2 separate regions of the Homo sapiens genome follow, and region 1 is linked to region 2. Evidence: promoter capture Hi-C in human tissues and cell types (Jung and others, 2019). All regions are on one chromosome and are shown on one strand. The core of a region is centred on a gene start or on the middle of the fragment in contact, and the rest is flanking DNA. Distances in the headings are between cores, read along the strand shown.

Evidence for each region. Contacts are between HindIII fragments. The study calls those that stand out against the background at their distance.
Region 1: a fragment that was not itself captured here is called in contact with the fragment with the promoter of CYP2W1 in region 2 in 1 of the 25 tissues and cell types used here (lymphoblastoid cells).

What each region holds. Positions count from the first base shown.
Region 1 is chr7:611,015-613,944 of GRCh38, forward strand. All of the region lies in intron 4 of PRKAR1B (protein kinase cAMP-dependent type I regulatory subunit beta), which reads right to left. LOC105375119 (a long non-coding RNA gene) reads right to left here. Exons shown (of 2, transcript XR_007060176.1): 1 at 2,825-2,930; 2 at 1,947-2,557. Among named protein-coding and RNA genes, the nearest start is that of PRKAR1B-AS1, 9.6 kb to the left of the region's middle. RefSeq lists an enhancer at 2,431-2,930. The HindIII fragment of the contact is 9,856 bases long and covers 1-2,930 here.
Region 2 is chr7:981,581-984,447 of GRCh38, forward strand. CYP2W1 (cytochrome P450 family 2 subfamily W member 1) reads left to right here and starts at 1,601. Exons shown (of 9, transcript NM_017781.3): 1 at 1,601-1,805; 2 at 2,832-2,867. The coding sequence starts at 1,632. It also overlaps a transcript of CHLSN not described here. The HindIII fragment of the contact is 22,766 bases long and covers 1-2,867 here.

The DNA of each region.
Region 1 (2,930 bases), core at 329-2,828, 370 kb before region 2:
GCCGAGGGCAGAGCCCCTGGTCTGTCTCTTGCTCCATCCTCACCCGCCCCTATGAGGTCAGCACTGCTGTTCCGTCCAGTTTCCAGATAAGGAAACAAGACACAAAGTAACTTCACCCAAGGTCAAGAAGCCAGGAAGAGGTGAAGTCAGGCTGAAGCCCCTATCATGAACGCTCCTCCACGGTCTGGCTTCCCTATAGGGGCAGAGCCCTCCTCCGAGCAGAGCATGTGCCTCCCTCTCGTCCACCCCTCCCTCTCTCTGTCTCTCTCTCCATCTGTGCCCTGGACTGGTCTCTAAGCTGGGGATTGAGGGCCTGAGCGTCTGGGACGGCCACCCCCAGCTCTCTCTGGGCAGGCGTCCAGTAAGGAGCCCCTGCTATTTGGGTCAGGGCTGGCCAGTGGTGCTGGGTCAGGACAGTTTCCAGGAAACGGCCTGTCCCGGGTTCCAGTCCTACCTGGCCTGTGGCTCAGAGATCACAAACCTTTTGAAAGCCCCCGCCCACACCACTCCCGATCCTGATGCCTCCCCCTCCTGCAACACCTCAGTTCCTGTGCTTCTCACTCCACGGATGGCTTCCGCCTCCCACAGCTGACTGAGCTCTCAGATGGAGACCACATGTTCCTTGCAGGCTCTAGTGCCCAGCCCGGGTCTGACGCAGAAGCTCCTCAGCACAATATGGATGGTTGGATGGGTGGGTGGATGAACGGATGAGTGAATGGACACATGGATGTACAGGTGGGTGAGTAGACGAATGAATGGATGGATGGATGGATGGATGGATGGACAGGCGGGTGGATTGAACAGGTGGGTGAGCGGATGGATGGATGGACAAATGGGTGAGTAGATGAATCGATGGATGGATGGACAGGTGGGTGGATGAACAGGTGGGTGAGTAGATCAACGGATGGATGGATGGATGGACAGGTGGGTGGATGAACAGGTGGGTGAGTAGATCAACGGATGGATGGATGGATGGATGGACAGATGGATGGACGGACAGGTGGGTGGATGAATAGGTGGGTGAGTAGAATAACGGATGGATGGATGGATGGATGGATGGACGGACAGGTGGGTGGATGAACAGGTGTGTGAGTAGATTTGAGTAGATTAATGGATGGATGGATGGATGTAAGGATGGATGATGGATGGATGGACAGGTGGGTGGATGTACAGGTGGGTGAGTAGATCAACGGATGGATGGATGGATAGATGGACAGGTGGGTGGATGAACAGGTGGGTGAGTAGATCAACGGATGGATGGATGGATAGATGGATGGACGGACAGGTGGGTGGATGAACAGGTGTGTGAGTAGATTTGAGTAGATTAATGGATGGATGGATGGACAGGTGGGTGGATGTACAAGTGGGTGGGTGGATGGATAGATGGATGGATGGACAGGTGGGTGGATGAACAGGTGTGTGAGTAGATTTGAGTAGATTAGTGGATGGATGGATGGATGGATGTAAGGATGGATGATAGATGGATGGATGGACAGCTGGGTGGATGAACAAGTGGGTGGGTGGATGGATAGATGGATGGATGGACAGGTGGATGGACCGACAGATGATGGATGGGTGGCTATTAGAGGAGAGGAAGGAAGGGAAAAGTGAATGAAAAAACGGATGCCTGGAAGGATGAATGGAAGGATGGCACTGCCTCTTTAAGGGCATTGCAACAAATATCAAAAGCTGCTGGAGTGGCCACCCTTGGGACCCTCAGTTCCACATTTAGGAACTTGAAGAAACAACGGGATGACTATGAAAAGATGTAAAAATATTGTAATAATATTCACCGAAGCACTGCCAGCAACAGAGGCTTTATTAAATAAACGACACTGAAAAGATGTGTGTGTGTAATAATATTCACCGAAGCACTGTCAGCAACAGAGGCTTTATTAAATAAACGACAATGAAAAGATGTGTGTGTGTAATAATATTCACCGAAGCACTGTCAGCAATACAGGCTTTATTAAATAAATCACAGTCCTTCTCAACAACCTAACACCGTGTGGTCATTAAAAATGGTGGTGTAGATACATGTAACAAGGAATAAAGGTGTTCACAGTGTTGCCAGTGAAAATAGGGTGTCGATGAAACTGTACAATTTAAAAACACAACCATAAAGTAAATAACCTAGAGGCTATGCACCGTAAGGCTAATAGCAACTGTGGGGTGGAGAGGGGGTGGGGTTGGGGTCATTTTCATGTGTTTTTTTCTTTTTCTTTTGTTTTTTTTTTTTTGATTACTTGTACTGACGTGTATTTTCTAATTTTCTATAATTACATTGTAAATCTGTGTAATTTTAAAAATGAGGCCGTTCATCATTGGAGAAAACACGACACGTACGCTTAAGGGCAGACTTAAGGCTCTTAACATTTTTAAAGCAACCAAAAGAGGCAAAATGTAGACTTTAAAACACAAAAATGTGCTTTTCTGAGTGTGGCACAGACTCCAAGCCCACAACGTCTGAGGAAGCGTACGGGATCAGAACCAGCAGCTCCGTTCACAGCCAAACTCGCCTTCAAAAGGCAAGGAGATGGCGCGCCAAGCTCAGCCCCTGAAATCACACACGCGGGGTTGAACGTGAGTAACTCAGCCCATCGTTCCGCACTGTGAATCTGCTCCAATACCTGCAGAGACAGGTCCAGCTCCCACTACGAGGGCCCACCGACCAACACGGTACACCGAGGGTGAAAAAGCCACGACCAGGCCCACCTGGAAAACACCATCAGCTCCTAGAAATGCCACTTCCTTCCTCCTCCCGCCGCTCCGGGCCTCCCGAGCCAAGACAAGCGCAGGTTGGGACTTGCACGGGAAAGCTCACCTGAGAATGTTTCCAGAAACCCCTCCCCAGCCTGCAGAGACCTCTCCCGGCCCCAGGACAGGGAAGCCTGCGGAGCCAAGAGGGTGCAGTGCTGGGAGGTCCCCGC
Region 2 (2,867 bases), core at 351-2,850:
GCATGTGCCTGTAATCCCAGCTACTCGGGAGGCTGAGGCAGGAGAATCGCTCCAACCCGGGAGGCGGAGGTTGCAGTGAGCCGAGATCACGCCATTGTAGTCCAGCCTGGCAACAGAGTGAGATTCCGTCTCAAAAACAACAAAAACCCAAAACTTAAAAAATTAGGCCAGGTGCAGTGGCTTACACCTGCAATCCCAACACTTTGGGAGGTCGAGGCAGGAGGATTGCTTGAACCCAGGAGTGTGAGACCAGCCTGAGCAACGTAGCAGGACCTCCATTTCTACATAAATAAATAAATAAAGTTAGCTAGGCTGGGTGGTGCATGCCTGTAGTCCCAGCTATTTGGGAGGCTGAGGTGGGAGGATGGCTTGAGCCCCGGAGGTGGAGGCTGCAGTGAGCCTGTACTCACAGCACGGTAATCCAGCCTGGGCAACAGAGCAAGACCCTGTCTCAAAAACAAAACACACAAAAATCAAAAGTATTCCCTGAATTAATTAAGTAAGCTTTGCTAGGCAGGTAGGACCCCCAGCCTACCCAGTAGTGGCCCTGGTATGAGGCACTCCCTCCCCGCCGCAGCCGCCCAGCCCTGGCCCTGAGGCTGTACAGCAGGATAGAGGTAGTGAGCTCCCCACCACAGGAGGCGTGCAACTGTGCCTGGGGCTTTCCCTCCCAGCTAATCAAGGGGGACCAACCCGGGAGGGGTGAGGGCCTCAGGCTGCCTCGGCTCTGCGGTTCGTACAGGGCATGGGCAACGCCCCAGAGACAGGCTGTGGGGAGGGTCCCGCCTGCTGGCACCAGCTCCAGCTGCCTCATGTCAGGGCAGGCTGTGCAAAGCAGGCCCGGCCGCTTCTGCTGCCAGCAGCCCTCCCACCCCTCACAGCGGTTTAGGAGACAGATGGACAGGGCTCGTAAACCCCGCCACCTGCCACCCGGCAGCCCTTCCATGTTCCTGTCCTAGCTCAGAGGGTTGCATCCCCTGCCCGGGCGGCAGCCCTCGAAAAGGAGCAGGCTGCTACCTGGGGCGAGAACACCCTCAGGGAGATGCAGGTGGTGGCCTGTGAGGACTGTGGGATTTGAGTCCCCTCATGGGCCTCCCTGAGGTCTCACTCCTGTCCCTTGCCCCGTGGGGAGCTGATCAGAGAAGAGCTGGGTGCACACGGATGGGGTTTGGGAGAGGCCTGCAAACCCTGAGCTCCACAGGGTCCCACTCAGAGCCTGTGAAAGGCAGGGGGCTCCCCTCCAAGCCAGGGCCTCGGCCCCAAAGCCCTGTGAATCCCAGTTCTGAGGGGTGGCCAAGGCCAAGGGGCCTGGACTGGCAGGTTCAGCAGAACCAGGGGCAGAACAGTCCACGTGCCACATCCTTCTCTCTGGCCAGGAGACATGGATGCCTGACCCCAGAGGGCCCCCGTCCTGCCCTCCCCTCCCCGGCCCCACCAGGGCCTCAGCCCCACATTCCACGCAGGCCTGCAGCTTTAAGCCATCCGCTGGGGGCTGCCCTGCAAACTGCTCGTTCCACATTCTCGGGGTGGTGGGGTGGGTGGGGTGCGGGCACGCCCTCCCGCGGAGGCCTATAAGGGTGCGGGGGGGACGGGGCCCAGGAGGGGAGTGGAGCCTCACCAGCCACGTCCTCATGGCCCTGCTGCTCTTGCTGTTCCTGGGCCTCCTGGGGCTCTGGGGGCTGCTCTGCGCCTGCGCCCAAGACCCCTCCCCAGCTGCCCGGTGGCCCCCGGGGCCTCGCCCGCTGCCGCTCGTCGGGAACCTGCACTTGCTGCGTCTGTCGCAACAGGACCGGTCCCTGATGGAGGTAAGTCAGGGAGCCCGGGCAGCTCTTGCCGCTTGGACAGCTGCCGTGTCCTGGCCCCCCTCCTGGGGAAGCCCAGCCCGGTTTCCACTGCCTGTTCCCACATGGTGCCGGGCCCAGCGGGGCACGCAGGAGGCCGGAGGGCCCACCCTGCTTTTGGGAGGGGAAAGCCACCCCGTCCCACAGGGAAGCAGACACACTGAGTACGAAGAAGCCCTGGAGGTGCCACCCAGGGCCCGGCGCGGGAGCAGGAGTCTGGAGGGCTCCCTGGAGGCGGTGGCGTCTGCTGAGAGCCCGCAGGAGGCCAGGCTTAGGGACAGCAGAGGGGAGGAGGGCCTGGGCCTGTCGGCTGCCTGCTCAGCCCCCCTCGGCCCTCAGGTGTTCAACAGCAAACACTTCCCACTTTTGAGCCTCTGTTTCCTCATCTGTGAAATGGGAAGAGGACCTGTGCCTCCTGGGCAGGGATGCTGAGGACAGAGGGTACGGGGACACGGCACGGGGCAGCCTGACTAGCACTGTCGCTCTGTCCTCGCTCAGGCAGGCAGGGTCAGTGGGACAGGGCTGACCAGTCAGGCCCGGGCCCTGCCTCCGGCTGCCCCCAACTGCGGGCTGGGGTGCTGCTGGCCGGGCTGTAGCCGAAGACGGATCAGGGTCTCTGGGGGCCGAGCCTGTCAGGCCCTCACTCTGTGCAGACTCTGGCCTTTCAGAATGTGCCACCCCAGCAGACAGCCAGCCCCCGACCTTGCCGCCTGGACTCAGGGCTTGAGCCCCCCAGGAATTTTGGCTAAAAAGAAAATCCCACAACAGCCATGCCAAGCACCAGATGGCGAGAGGGCTCTGTGGGCTCCAGGCTGGGCGCTGCCCCCTCCACCCTGCACCACTGGCTTTATGGCATCTAGGCGTGCCCCCTCCACCTGCCCCCATTTTCCCTCTGTCCCCACCCCTACCCAGCACAGGCCCGGCCTGAGGGGACCTAAGGGGGGTCTTGTGGGTGAGGGCTGCCCGGGTGACCCCCGCCATCCCTGCCAGCTCTCAGAACGCTACGGGCCGGTGTTCACCGTGCAC